2 separate regions of the Homo sapiens genome follow, and region 2 is linked to region 1. The links are contacts of gene promoters, found by promoter capture Hi-C in human tissues and cell types (Jung and others, 2019). All regions are on one chromosome and are shown on one strand. Each heading gives the region's core, a stretch centred on a gene start or on the middle of the fragment in contact. The rest is flanking DNA. Distances are from core to core; before and after follow the strand shown.

Region 1 (7,562 bases), core at 4,422-6,921:
AGGAAGAAATGATCATCTCAAGTGGCTATCACTCCAACAGAAGCAGCAACGGGCCAAGGAGCTCTGTTCAGATGCTGTGCTGTATCCACACAGAGGATGGTTCTACAAAAGCCAACTGTTGTATTAAAGGGAAGAGTCATCCTGAGTGACCACACATTAGAGAGGGTGGCACTGGCAACACACCCCATCCTCCCTGCTGCACTGTAGAAAGCCAATAGGGTTTGACAGGGGCACAAAAGCGTGATTGTTTTCATCTCTCTGGGGTCCAGCCAAGTAAGCTTAATTAAATGAAAATAATAGCATTTCAGTTCACCTGCAGAGGTGGGAGAAGAGGAATGAAAGTAATCCAAGTTTCCATCAAATACTTCTTGGTTCATGGTGCAGCTCTCTAATCACCTGATATTTATTGTTAACTTGTTTTTTTTTTCCTTCACTGTAGCTATTAGAGTAGAAATTTAATTACTGTGATTGAATTATTAAAGGATTCAGAAATACCTTTTGCATACTAAGCCTTTTCTTCCCCCTGAACTGGAAGCTGGCACTAAGAACTTTTCTGTCACTTTGGTATGCCTGAGTGCTGACTTCCAAAGCTTTGAGTCTTAACATCCTTGACAAAGGTTCATTTAATACATGCCATGTAAATATTAGGGAGAGATGTAAAATAGTGTTATATAAGAATTATATTTGAAAATATTACTGATAGGAAAGATAATGGCTTCTATTTATTATTATTATTTTTTGAGATGGAGTTTCGCTTTTGTTGCCCAGGCTGGAGTGCAGTGGCGCGATCTTGGCTCACTGCAACCTCTGCCTCCCAGGTTCAAGCCATTCTCCTGCCTCAGCCTCAAGAATAGCTAGGATGACAGATGCCTGTCACCATACTCGGCTAATTTTTATATTTTTAGTACAGATGGGGTTTCACCATGTTGGTCAGGCTGGTCTCAAACTCCTGACCTCAGATGACCCTCCCACCTTAGCCTTCCAAAGTGCTGAGATTACAGATGTGAGCCACCATGCCCAGCCCAGATAATGGCTTCTAAAATTTTATATCTATCTCAGGAATGTAATAGAGATCGACAATTATTAAGGAAGACTTGAAGCGGGGGAGCCTTTTAGCTTTTTGATTTAAATTTTTTTTCTTGGAGAAAACAGCAACAACAACAACCATACAAAACACTAGCAGTGGTGATCATTGGGAAAATAAAAACCTGAATTGTTTCAGCCCTGTTGCTTAGCAAAATAAAAAATAAGGCACCCTGATTTTTTTTTCCTTAGAATTATAAACTTGAATGGCCAATAGAGTAGTGGATCTTTTTTATTTTCAGGCTTTGGACCACTTGAATGAAGCAGGAGCTTGCAGGCATCACAGATTTTCATTTATCTCCCCCCAGATCTACCGTCCCATCCACAAAACTTCCCTTGGCACCAGTGTCTTAGTGGCTTCCACTGTTACGTAGCCTGAGTCGGCGTTTCTCCTGGAGTTGAGGGGGTTGCACTGCAGTGATGGTGACTGGTTTGTCTAGCATGCCCTGGGGCTTCTGGAAGTATTGGTTTGGTTCTTCCTTAAGGAACCTCTCCTGACAGATAAAAGGCTTCAATCCTGGACCACCTGGCTTCAGGAGCTTCAGGCCTTGTCACTTTGTCTGCCAACTGGCCTCCTTCATTCTCGACTCCCAGCCCCATTCTCCATTTACAGCTGCTCATGCCTGCCTGCGAATTAGATGCAAAAATCAGTTTTCTTCCCTTCTCTGGTCTCAGCTGGGTTTCCTGGATGCTCTTTTCTGATCTCTTCCACCAATTGTGATTCTTTGAACAGTTCTCCTAGTAAAGCGACTTCCTGCTCTGCCAGGTTCCTGGCTCCCCTCTCCCAGCAGATAACCCACAGGTCTCACAGACAAGACCCACACTGGCATCAATGGCTCTGAGCTCTGAGCCCCAAGCAAAGCACCCATGGGCCCCTGGCACTTTCTCAGTTTAACCAGTAGGGCTCTATTCCTGCATCTCCATAGAGAGAAGAAAAGCAGGGGGTCACTTATCCATCATTCATTCCATAACTATGGACTGAACATTTGCTAAGCACTAGGCCAATGTGCCTCTGTAGAGCCCTTCATCTATTATCCGAGAAGCTCAGCAGAGGGCACTCCTGTATTATAACAGTTAAGCACCGGGGCAGTGAACCTGAACCCAGAGTTCCACAGCAGGTCTGCAGTGAGAACATGCAAATAACCCCACACTTATGCGCGCACGCGCGTGTGTGTATGTGTGTACACGTGTGCCCATGTTCTGGTCTTTATTTACTCATCATATTCAAGAATAAATGGGATGCTCCCTTTTGCATTTTAGGTTATTAGCCTTACTCAAGCAAAGATAATAATGCCATGATATATTGCTCATCGGATTCACTCAAAAGTCATTTTAATTGGTGGCACATTTTATTTCAAAGCCCTTAAAGGGAAAAAAAAGAGAATATTTTAGGATGCAATTTCAAAATTACTGCCAAGTTATTGCCTTCTGTTTGCTTGAAATAATTGAGTTCTTCTCTGGATGCAGTCATCTTGATGAAGAATAGAAAGGAGAGGACCTGAAATGTCACTGCTGCTGGAAGAGGAATTCATCTCAGGCAGACACAAGTACATGCTATTCTTTGAAAAAATCTCTCCTTCTGATTAATTAAAATGAAGTAAGTGCCACAGTGCAGCCAATATTTTCCACTCAGTGGAATTTAGCCATGATGTATGTCCATGAAGAAATAGGCTCAAAGTAGGCCTTACATGTCTGATATGAGTGGTAAACATTACCTTCCTTTTCATAATTCCAGTGTTTTTCAATAAAAATCCACATTTGAAGGAAAGTTACCAGTCGACTCAACCAAATGATATTTTTATGTGTTAGAAGTTAAATTATCAACTGTAAAATTAACTTATCACCTGGTGAGTGAAATTAGCAGGTAGAGTGGTTGCTATTCAATTATGGTGAGTTGCTGTTTAATGGCTGTGTTCTGGAAGGCTCTATTAATGTCTATTAATCTGTTTTTTCCTACTGGACAGCAGACAGCCCTTTATTGCTAAACCCCATCATGGTGGTGCAAAATGTGGAGGCTGCAGTCAAAACCACTGAGGCTCTTGGTAATAATTAGCATAGCACCAAAAAGATACATCGGATACTTTACTAAAATATCTCCTTCCTACCACCTTAAAACTTAAAGCAAGTCTTGACTAGGGGAAAAGGAAGTAACACAAAGGTAATCTGTGGAAGCCGGATGGAGAGGCTTCCAGTCTGATCTGTCTCTTTCCAAATGTCCAGGTCCCAGGCTACTAAACCAAAGGCTCATCTTGGGTTGGGGCTCAGCCTCGGCCCTGCCTGTGGCAGAGAAGAAAGAGAAACAAGAAACAGTCTCATGAGAAGCTGGCTATCTATGGGGCAGGCATTAAAGAGAGTCAAGAAAATCACTCCAAAAACACAAAATCCTGTCTCCCCAGGGTTCCCAATAACGGAAACATCATCATTATGAATTATGCCAACATATGTTGTTTCTGTTGCCTCACTAGAGTTGCTCTTTTGGTGACAGATCCTGGATTCTTCTTGGAGAACCACCCTTCCCGATTTCAACCCCTGGGCCACATCCACTGGTGTGTTCCCTCCTCCTGGACTGCAGTCCTTGATCCAGGGTGCGTGCTCCAGGCTTTGGTTAGAGTTACTGGGAAAGAGTTGTACCTTTTCCTTTCCAGGATCTAAACCAAGGATGTGAGTCCAAGGCTGCCAGAAGGAAAAAGAATCAACACAGGGGAACACGGAGGAGGACTGGAGAGACACCTGCTCGAAAGACTCCTTTTGAGCTCCTGGGTCTAGCCATGCCTGAAGAGGACCTTTATCCTTAACTTTTCAGTGATGTCAGTGAATACATTTCCATTTTTATTTAAAATGAAGTAAGTGGCACAGTGCAGCCAATATTTTCTGTTGAACTCTATCCTTCGGGTGGCTCACTTTATTCCTCATTGAAGGAAATAGCGTGTGGGTAGAGTGGGATGTGAGGAAGAGGGCAGGCAGGTGCCCAGTTTTGTGCATACAGACCCTTGGTCCTGGAGCAGGCAGTGGGCCTCTAGGTTCTGCCTTAGCCGTCACGGGCGCCTAGGCCTTGTTACCTCACTGGACAACGTTGGGTGGAATGATAGGCAGGGTCCTTTCCAGCCTGATACTTCGTTTCCAGCCCCAAATCCACTCAGTAGAGTGGATGGTCGCTCCGGCTGCCACCTTGGGAATTCCAAGGATAGGGGTGGTGGTGGCTTGTCCTTCCTTCTACAGGTGAGGTCTTCTCACATGCTTTGGTACCAACGATATCATATGTCTTTTCGTGGTTTGTGAACAGAAGGTGATAAAGTATTTCTCTAAAATTCTAGCTTTTATTCATAAATTCTTAGCATTTTCATTTTCTTCTCCCTTGACCCCGTTTCCGTCGTTTCTGTCTCATAAGCTAGAGCTGGGAAGATGCGGTCGCCCATGCTGCGGCCTGCTGTCTCCTGCGGAGCAGCTCTCCCCAGATCTGTGTGTTTGCCATAATATACTCTCACTTTTCTCCGCACCCAGAGAGGATATACATTTGTTACATGTTTACAAACCAGAATAAAACCATTGAACTGAGGTGACAGGAGGTGGAACCCGTGGAATATCAGTGTTTGTAACCCACTGCGCCACCAGCTCCAAGCTGTAGACACATTTTCTTTCAGCCCCCGGGGCTGGTGTTGCCATTTCTGCGGAGTAGTTCACCTGCGGGCAGGTGGTTCTCAGTTCCCAAAGTCGGGTGGCAAGGGGTGCTCTCCCGAAATGCTGACGCTTCCCCTGGGATGTCAGCAGAGTCGATGCGGACGAAATGAGGTAGCCCAGGCGTGTCTGGGAGGGTGAGCTGTCCGAGCTACTTGGGGCAGGTAGGTCTTCTAATCCCCCATCGCGGCCTAGGTCCGACCCTGCCCCAACCGCCGCCACCGGGCAAGAAAGGCTGGGCCTCCAGGGTGCCCTGGGCACAGGCCTGGGCTCCGGAGGGCGGCGCTGGCCGGGTGCAGCCCCCTGGAACCCAGGCAGGAGGCGAGCCTGGGCGTCACTGGGGGCCGGGGCCGGCGACAGCCGCGGCGCGAGGGTGGGAGGGGACGCGCCCGGCTGGATCCAGAGCGCAGGCTGGCAGCTCACCGAGGCCAGCCCCGTCCCGTCCCTTCTGGGGTTTGGAGGCCCCAGCCTCGCCGCCCTCACTCCCCAGAGCGGCGCTCTCCCAGTCACCCTGGGGGCCGCCCTGCCCCGCCTCGCGCCCACAGAGCTGGGACCCCGGGACCCACTCCCTCAGGCAGGCTGCGTCGCCCACGGCTGCGGCCCGGAGGGGCAGGGGGCGGGCTAGGACCCGGGCGGGGATTCCGGGAGCCGAGAGCTATTTTTGCAAACGCGTCAGCCGCTGGGGAGGAAGAGCCGGCTCCGCGCCCATTGTGTCTGCGCGGCGCGGCGCGGGAGGGGCCGGGGGGCGGCGGGGGGCGGCGGGGACGCAGCGAAGCGCGCGAAAACGGCCGGCTGGGCGGGGAGGACCGCGCCTGACCCCCGGCGGCGGGCGGGGCGGGGCCCGGGGCGGGTCCGGGGGCGGGTCCGGGGCGGGGCGCGAGGGGGCGGGTCCGGGAGCTCTCCGGCCGCTGCAGGCTGGCGGCTGCTGCGGCGGCGCGGGGACTGTGAGGCTGCCGAGCGGACAGCGACTCCCGGGGAAGCCCGCGCTCCGGGAGCGGGAGCGGGAGCAGGAGCAGGAGCAGCGCCGTCCCAGGCCAGAGGCGAGCGCCGGGCGCCGGGAGAGCGGAGAGCCCGGGCAGCTGCCGGAGCGCGGGGGCGCGGCCCGAGGAAACCACAGAGCGAGCCCAGGCCTGGGGAGGGCGCCGAACATCTGAGGCGGCTTCGCGGGAGACAAAGCCGCGCGTAGAGACGCGATGCCCGCCGATCGCGAGCCCGGCCGGCGAGGGCGCGGGGACTGCGGCGTCTGAGCGCGCCAAGCCGTGCGCCCGCGGGGACGCCGAGCCCCGGGGCCGGTGCGGGCGGCGGCGGGCGGGGCCCAGGTGCGCCCGGCCGCGTCGGGCCCGTGACTGCTCGGGGGGCGGCGCCCTCCCGCCGCAGCCGCAGTGGCTGGCGCCGCAGCCAGGAGCCATGGGCAACATCTCCTCTAACATCTCGGCCTTCCAGTCCCTGCATATCGTCATGTTGGGCTTGGACTCGGCCGGCAAGACCACGGTGCTCTACCGGCTCAAGTTCAACGAGTTCGTGAACACGGTGCCCACCATCGGCTTCAACACCGAGAAGATCAAGCTGAGCAACGGCACGGCCAAGGGCATCAGCTGCCACTTCTGGGACGTGGGCGGCCAGGAGAAGCTGCGGCCGCTGTGGAAGTCCTACAGCCGCTGCACGGACGGCATCATCTACGTGGTGGACTCGGTGGACGTGGACCGGCTGGAGGAGGCCAAGACGGAGCTGCACAAGGTGACCAAGTTCGCCGAGAACCAGGGCACGCCGCTGCTGGTCATCGCCAACAAGCAGGACCTGCCCAAGTCGCTGCCGGTGGCAGAGATTGAGAAGCAGCTGGCGCTGCACGAGCTTATCCCGGCCACCACCTATCACGTCCAGCCGGCGTGCGCCATCATCGGCGAGGGCCTCACCGAGGGCATGGACAAGCTCTATGAGATGATCCTGAAACGCAGGAAGTCCCTCAAGCAGAAGAAGAAGCGGTAATGCGCCCGGAGCGACCGGGGAGCGAGCGAGTGCGTCAAGAAAGAATGAATGGATGGATGGATGGTTGGATGGATGGATGGATGGATGAGCGAGAACCCGCGCCCGCGAACAAAGAGCGAACCAAAGCGATGCTTCGAATTTTTAAAACGGAATCTCTGCACCCAAATGCAGGACTGGTGACTTAAGGAGCTGCGAAGTCTGATTTACCGGCCTACTCTCGACCTGCCCCCCACCCCCAGCTCAGGGGACCTTTTGTCTGAACGCCAGAGCTACTGACCAGGTCGGGGGGCCGCGGTGGGGAGTGGAAGAGCCGGTCCTGCTGTCCGCCCTCCCAGCCCCAGGTGGAAGGCTCAGTTGTCGGAAAGACAAAAGCGATTTCTTCCCACTCCTGCAGGGCCAGAAGTTCAGGCTGCCCCGCCTCCACTGGGGGATCGCACCTGTGAATTACCTGAGGTATGCATTTCCCAGAACCGTGGGCGTACCCACCTTGGGGGGCATGTTGGTTCTGGGGGGACCACCTCTCCTTGCATTCAGGGGCTGTGAAGCTGAGTAATTTTCGGTCACAGGGCAGGCCCCTGTTGAAATTTCATTTGTCCTGCTCTGGGCCCAAAGGTGGTGGTGGTTTGGGTCATCAGAGGACTGCCTGGGACGGTTCAGCGGGCACGGAGCGCTGTGCTGGCCTGGCTGGGGATGGCCGCGGAGGTGCCCTTTTCCTGGTGCTTTGTGGTGGCTGCAGAAGACCAGTTTTGTTGAGAACTGCTTTTCAGCCTGGAATCAGACATCTTCCAGATGGTTTGGACCCTGTCCATGTGTAGGTC
Region 2 (7,579 bases), core at 3,229-5,728, 1.0 Mb before region 1:
TTCCCAGTGGCATCCTATTTTCAAAACAAGAAACTCTTGGACAAATAAATTCAAGTTTCTATGTAAAATTCTGAATTTTATGTCCAGAAAACCCCCCAAAAGACAATATCATAGTCATCACAGTTCAATTTTTTTTTTTTTTGAGACAAGATCTCACTCTGGCACCCAGGGTGGAGCGCAGTGATGCAATCATAGCTCACTGCAGCCTGCAACTCCTTGGCTCAAGTGATCCTCCTGCCTCAGCCACTCAAGTAGCTAGGACTAAAGGCACTTGCCACTGTGCCTAGGCTGGTCTCAAACTCCTGGCCTCAAGCAATCCTCCCACTTCGGCCTCCCGAAGCGCTGAGATTACAAGCATTAGCCACCGCACCTGGCTTCAAATTTTTTAAAATATTGAAACCCGAGCTAAATAAATAAATAAATAAAACAGGGCCGGGCACAGTGGCTCATGCCTGTAATCCCAGCACTTTGGGAGGCCAAGGCGGGTAGATCACCTGAGGTCAGGAGTTTGAGACCGGCCTGGCCAACGTGGTGAAACCCTATCTCTACTAAAAACATAAAAATTAGTTGGGTGTGGTGGTGCATGCCTGTAGTCCCCGCTACTCAGGAGGCTGAGGCAGGCGAATCACTTGAACCTGGGAGGCAAAGGCTGCAGTGAGCTGAGATCACACCACTGCACTCCAGCCTGGGCGACAGAGCAAGATTCCGTCTTAAAAAAAAAAAAAAAAAAAGAAAAGAATTTTAAAAAAAGCACTCCCCTCTCCAAGCAGGATCCATAATCAGTAGTAGACCGTCCAACAAAAGGTCTCCCAGCCTGCTCTCGGGGGCTGTCAAGGATCACTTATCATTCGGCCGCCTACCCCGCTCTTCCCAGGCTGAAGTGACTCTGTTCTGGATGCTCCAATCCTAGTACCCACTAGCCTGGAAAGCCCTCCTGACTGCTACCTGGCTTCCAGGATCTCTCCCTGGACTCCGCCCCATCTCCCAGGCCCCTCCCACACAGCCTTGTGTGGCTGCGATCTCTACCTGTATCAGTGGCTCCTGGGGGAGATCTGAAGGGCCCTGAGTGTCCCACACATCTGCCTGTTCTCCCAGCTTCAAAAACTGCGCTCTGCCCAGTGCAGAGGCTTGATAAAATCTTGTCTATTGATTCTCACATTAGCCACTTCCCCTACTAAACAAAGTGAGTATAAACTTGGTCCTCCCACCACCATCCCTCAAAATAAATATTTGCCATTGCAAAGCCACCAGAGAAATCCACACACGCACACACTGCCCTCACTCAATCCATGGCCCCGCGTGTCCTTCCTGGCTCTGGCCTTGTTTAGCACTGGCCTTTGTGGAGGGGGATGGGCAGCTCCCAGGACACAGCGCTGGAACAAAGAAAATTACTCCTTGAGTTGGCAACACTTAGCTTTTTTTCTTCTTTTGTGTCTTCAGCATAATTGCTACAAACAACAAAAACTGAATAATGCTAATACGTAACTATGAAGGCCATAACACAGTTTAGGCCAAACATACAGAGTGAATTCCCTTTCAAAGACCAACACAGATCCAGTGGGTTATCTAAAACCCAGCACAGGGATGGATTGAGGCTGCTTGGGGCTCAGCCAGAAAGAGTCCCCCAGTTGACAACTGACTTCTGCCAGGAGCCAAGGAGAGCCAAAGGGGCCCCTGTTCCAGTCCCAGAGGAACTGCGCCCTCTTCCTGGTGAGGGATTTCGCTCACACAGCTCCATGCACACAGCCGTCATTATTCAACTAACAAGGAATTAATAGCCTGCAGACAATCCAAAAGTTTAAAAACCTAATCTCTAAGTGCTGGAAATGCATTAGCCATGCAAACATTTGTTTATGAACAAACAACTGAAAGAATGAAAATCAGCAAAAGGAGACAAACGGCCATCCTGAGTGTCATAAAATGAACCTTGAAAGCACTGAAAGGTTTCCCAGATAGGGGCTGCTGGGCTGCAGGAGCGGCTTCACGAGCAGCTACGTCCAACCCACAGAGAGAAAGACACAGCCCAGCACACACCCGACAGAAATGAGGCCATATGGGCACCAAAAGGCAAGTGAGAATCTGCACAGTGGTGCTATTCATGACAGCCCCAAAACAGGCAGCCACTCAAACACTGACAGCCCCCGAAACAGGCAGCCACTCAAACACTGACAGCCCCCGAAACAGGCAACCACTCACACACTGACAGCCCCCGAAACAGGCAGCCACTCAAACACTGACAGCCCCCGAAACAGGCAGCCACTCAAACACTGACAGCCCCCGAAACAGGCAGCCACTCAAACACTGACAGCCCCCGAAACAGGCAACCACTCAAGCACATATCACAGGCAGAAGAGACCAATAAATGGGGGCTACAATTTCTAACGACCCTCACGACAGATGAGTCTGTGCTGGCCACTGAACTGGATGCTGGTCCCACATGTGATCAGTTTGTGAAAACTTTCTCCTTTATGACTTGGGCACCTTTCTCTGTTATGTGTCAAAAAAAAAAGAGAGTTCGAGGCTGGGCGTGGTGGCTCAAGCCTGTAAACCTAAGACTTAGGGAGGCCAAGGCAACATAGCGAGACCCCATCTCTACAAAAAAAATTAAAAAATTAGTCGGGCATGGTGGTGCGTGCCTGTGGTCCCAGCTATTTGGGAGGCCAAGGCAGGAGGATCGCTTCAGGAAAGCAAGGCTTCAGTGAGCCACGATCGTGCCACTGTACTTCAGCCTGATTGACAGAGACTGTCTCAAAAATTAAAAACTAGGCCAGGCACAGTGGCTCATGCCTGTAATCCCAGCACTCTGGGAGGCTGAGGCAGGTGGATTGCTTGAGTCCAGAATGTCAAGACCAGCCCAGGCAACATGGTGAAACCCCGTCTCTACTGAAAATCCAATGAATTAGCCAGGCATGGTGCACATCTGGAGTCCCAGCTACTTGGCGGGGGCTGAGGTGGGAGGATTACTTGAGTCTGGGAGGTTGAGGCTACAAATGAGCCCCAATAGTGCCACTGCACTTCAGCCTAAGCAACAGAGTGAGACCCTGTCTCAAAAAATAAATAAATAAATACTAACAAGTTCCAAGAAATAAAAGAGTTTGAAGTGGTCTCAATCCCACCAATTCCAAACCCAAACTTCAAGTACTACATGGACACTCAGAGACCCAGGCTTGATTGTTGAAGCTAAAATTAACACAATGCTGTTCCCCGCCAATCACACCATCCCCTCCCAAATCAGGTTCACCAGGCTGAACTTCCAGCAGGAGCAGTCTCGTCAGAACAGGAGCAGATACGCGATCCCGGCTCACAGCAGCACCCCAGACCTTCGAAAACAACAACAAAGGGGGTGCAGACAGGCTTCCGGAAACGCCCTCCCTGGAAAATATGCTGGATTCTCCCCCACTGAAAAGGGCAGCTCAACGCACAAACAGGATGGAAATTCAGGGCAATCAGCTCTTTCCAAATCAATTTCTTTTTCATTACATAAGCTAGCCAGCACTTCCGACAATACCAATCCTGCTGAAGGGTACCATCACACAGTGGGCATGCCCCCAAGGTGACATTTAAGAAGTGAAAACTCTTTCCTGAAAAAAGGGTAGGTCTTGTGGCTATTTGTTGCAGGTGTTCATAAATTTTTTAAAAAATGTTTAACTTCTTTCTTTCAAGTATCCTCCATACTACAAGTCACTATTGGCTAAAACTAAAACTTATTGAATTGAAGCTAAATGTACTTTCTAAAGGTACGGTTCTGCCTTTCAGACTATTATCTGAGTGAGAACAGGGTAACAGTAGCTTCGTCCTAAGCTGGAAATCAACATGGTTGTATTTACTAGAGCCTGTTGAATGCTGACATTTCTCCAAGACCAAACATAAATCATTTGTGAACATGGACATTATTTGAAATTCTTCTCCCAGAACCATGAAAAGTGTTTTCCCACCCTTAAAAAAAAAAAAAAAAAAAAAGGCAAATAAAAAGCTTCTAACCATGATGCTAATGACAACCAGACGGCATGAGCAGTTTTAAAGATTAGACAGTTGCTTGTGTAGAAACACTGTACAAATACTCCAACACTGCAGCCCAAAAAAAGACAATCCCCATCAAACAGCGGGAGAAGTGTGAAATTTGCAAATGAGCCCCTGGTTAAACAAAAACACCAATCTGTTCCCAGAGAGCTCAGGGTGGCCACCTGTTTGGGACTGGTGGCAAGTTCTGGTTACCAATGGAAGAAACAATACTGGAGCAAGCAGTGGCAGCCCCCTCTCGGGCCCTGGTCCCCACCCTCGAGCCTATATTTAGTCTGCTCTTTACGGAAAATGTCCCAACCTCGCACACAAACAAGCTATCTGGCTGGTTACTCAAAGAATCCATTAACGATCTCTTCTGCAGGGGGTGGTATTTGTTTTCCTTCCCTCCCCAGGCCCCAGACACAAGCACGATACCCACTTCTGGCCATGGTCTCTTGTGACCAGAAAAGCCCTGGAAGATAGAGGGACTGGACCCCACGGACAATACCAACCCTGCCTCTGATGGGTCATCACTGCATCTTGGGAAAGACAGCCCACACTATGAAAAGGGACCCCCAAATCCCCCTCAGCCCCTCAGAAGCACAGAGCTTCCAGAAGGCCAGGGCTCACCGCAGCACACACAAAGCACTTGTACCCCTGAATAAAAATAACAGATGCTGCAAAGATTAGAGATTAACATCTGTAGAGTGCATTTTGTTTCTCGGAGAAAGGTACTTAACAAAGGGAAGGAATTATGTAGCTAAGCACCAGATCAGAACCTCAAACCCTGGATTTTAAAAATAGCTAAGCCTCATCCGCTTTGCCAGACTCAATCACTTAAGCTAAGGACGTGAAGGCTGGAGGATTGGGATGGGGGCGGGGAGGGGGACACAGGTTTGCTAGAGTGTAGAGAAACATAAGACGAAACGAAATCAGTGGTTAAAACAAGCCAGAGTGAGACTCACAAACTATAAACACCTGCAGGGTATACAGGGGGAAAAACGGATGCAAAATAAGGGATTTTCGTCTTAACAAAATAAAACGCCTGGTTTAGGCAAAAAACAAGAGGTGGTAGCAACAGGGCTGCAGGTTTTGTTTTGAAGGTTCCTGCAGCTGCCCCCACTGCTTCTCTCCCTTATGAGTCACTTCCTTCAGGCTCCTCCAACAGCTCTTTTAAGCTACTAGTAACATCTAGCTCCTGTCTTTTACAGAAACGCGCTTTCAGCTTGGAAATATTGGTAACAAAATGTGTCATCTGCCAAATTATCATATAATAAGTGAATACTGAAGAACCCAATCTAAATATACATAAGACTACATTAAAAAGCAACAATCTCCGAAAGACAAGAAGGAAAATCCGCAAAACCACAGAATGAGTCTAGAAGGAAATGGACATCAGCTGCCTCTACCTCCTAACCAGATTCTCTTGGCAATGTCCATCCGACATGCCACCGTGTCGCAGAAACGCAGCCCACTGACAGATGCCCCTGACAGCAATAACTGAGAATGGCCCCACATGGCAGGTGCACCTGAATGTATGTTCGGGGTTCTGAGCTAAGGAATCCGGGAGTGGCCAACCCAGAGATTCATTCCTTATCTATGAGGAACATCTAAACCCCCAGCCTGTCCCATGGAAAGCAGGCCATACAGGGTATTGAGGCTCTTTGATTGGTGTTAAGGTTGCTGGGTGGTGGTTGTTTGGGGGAGGGTGTTAAGCGAAAATGCTATATAAACTGCACGCTTTCTGAAAGCAAGCAGCAGCGCTTCTCCTGCCCAGGCCGCCATGGGACCACTCTGTAAATAAATTCCCCTAATAAACCCTCTGTCTTTTGTTTGCTGGCTCTAGGTCTCCTCTCCAGTCTCTTGAACCCGGTGCCATCCCTAATGAAATTTAAAGGGGTCTGGCACGACAGGCCCCTCACCCAGCATTCAGCTGCTTTTCAAACAGCATCATGAAGATCACATGAACACCAGCTTGAAACCATTCAGATCTGGTTTAAGTCCCTCGTCCACCACACTTAGCCTGCGTGACCACAAGCAACTCCCTGAGCAGCTGGCCTTAGGTGTCTTCACCTGAAACCTGCAGGGCAGGCTGATAGGAAACCTTCTCAGCTGGCTACAAGCACAGCAAGGAAGAAGAAACAACGGCCCAGAGATGATACCAAGTCAACTGGAGCTGCCTTTCCTTTACAGCTATGCTTCCAGAAGTGCGGTCCCTGGACCAGGGCATCCGCATCCTCAGGACACTTCTTAGAGAGGCACATTCGTGCGTCCTGCTCCAAACCCACAGAACTAGAAACTCGGGAGGTATGGGAGGGGCCGGCAATCTGTTTCCATCAGCCCTCAATGTGACCTGACACACACTCACGTTTGCTCTCGGTGTGACGCCAAAGATACTATATCATGGCAGTGACACAGGCTGTCACCCATTTGTCCTCTTAATATTGATTCTATGTCTGAAATTCACTTACACCCAACATAAACACCAACCTGTTGTAGACAGCTGATCTGAAAAAGCTGCCAAGATTTAGCAAGCAAATCTTTTGCTTCCCCTACCTACAGTAAAGAAAATTTCACTTCCATCCCAAACACCACATGACACTGAGTTCCCACCAAGCCAGCCCACCAAATCCAAAAGGTGTCTAACCCTAACTTCTGTGCTCTGGGGACGTTTCAAATTGTCCTCACTTCTGCAGCGTATAAACATTGTTTATCCTACCAAGAAGGAGCTTTGGAAAGGACCCTCTGGCAAGTCAGCCAGCCAACAAACCCCTGGGCATCCTTCAAGGGCCAGACGTGATCTATCAAACCACTGAGGATACAGCAATAAACAAGCCCTGATTTCTGCCCTCAACCAGCTTCCAGACCTCCCAGCTGATTAAGTAGATGAGCCAAACACGGTGGGCAGAGACCAGGAGGGCCTTAATTCTGGCGAGGCAAGGCTGGTCATGAGTGACACCAACAGAGACCGAGCCTCGCAGGGTGAGCAACAGGCAGAGAAGGCGGCATCTCAAAGAGCACCTGCACCACAACTGAGAAGCATGAGTAAGCTGGACTCACAAGGAACGCCCGCATTGTGGAGGTCCCGGGTGCCGGCAAGGTACGAGAGCTCACCTGGAAGCAACTAAAAGCCAACTGAGTGTTATTTTTAAGGAGGGGACTGCAAACCTGCCACCTTTCATTCAACTTGAAGGATTATGAACATGGCCAATGGTGACAAAGAAACATGACACTTATCCACAGCAGGAAGAAAATGTTTGTTTCCCTAAACATGCACACCTGCATCAACCGGACTAAATACATTTCCACATGAAAACAAATGCTTCTGGAAGTTTTGCCACAGTCAGCTGCTTTACAGAGAACAGAATACTTTAGGTTCTTTGGGGCCTTCTCAAACCCTCTTGCCTTGGGTGGCGGAAACAAGCTTGGGATGCTTTGCACACACGGCCTATGGGAAGTATGAATAACAGGGGCTCCGCAATCTCACACGGCGACAGAGGGCCAGAGGTGAGGTCGGACGGGCCCAGCTCACCGCTCTCGCACAAGTGTCCTAAGCTTTCTGGCCTCAGCAGTGCGT

Evidence for each region. Contacts are between HindIII fragments. The study calls those that stand out against the background at their distance.
Region 2: a contact is called between a fragment that was not itself captured here and the fragment with the promoter of ARL4C in region 1, in 1 of the 25 tissues and cell types used here (mesenchymal stem cells).

What each region holds. Positions count from the first base shown.
Region 1 is chr2:234,495,190-234,502,751 of GRCh38, reverse strand. ARL4C (ARF like GTPase 4C) reads left to right here and starts at 5,671. Exons shown (of 2, transcript NM_001282431.2): 1 at 5,671-6,740; 2 at 6,916-7,562. The coding sequence starts at 6,166. The coding sequence ends at 6,946. RefSeq lists an enhancer at 4,636-5,409 and silencers at 5,594-5,883, 5,994-6,093. The HindIII fragment of the contact is 18,774 bases long and covers 435-7,562 here.
Region 2 is chr2:235,499,082-235,506,660 of GRCh38, reverse strand. The region is part of intron 1 of AGAP1 (ArfGAP with GTPase domain, ankyrin repeat and PH domain 1); the gene reads right to left. It overlaps AGAP1-IT1 (AGAP1 intronic transcript 1), which reads right to left and starts at 910. Exons shown (of 2, transcript NR_131900.1): 1 at 861-910. RefSeq lists enhancers at 1,112-1,618, 5,590-6,195. The HindIII fragment of the contact is 8,188 bases long and covers 385-7,579 here.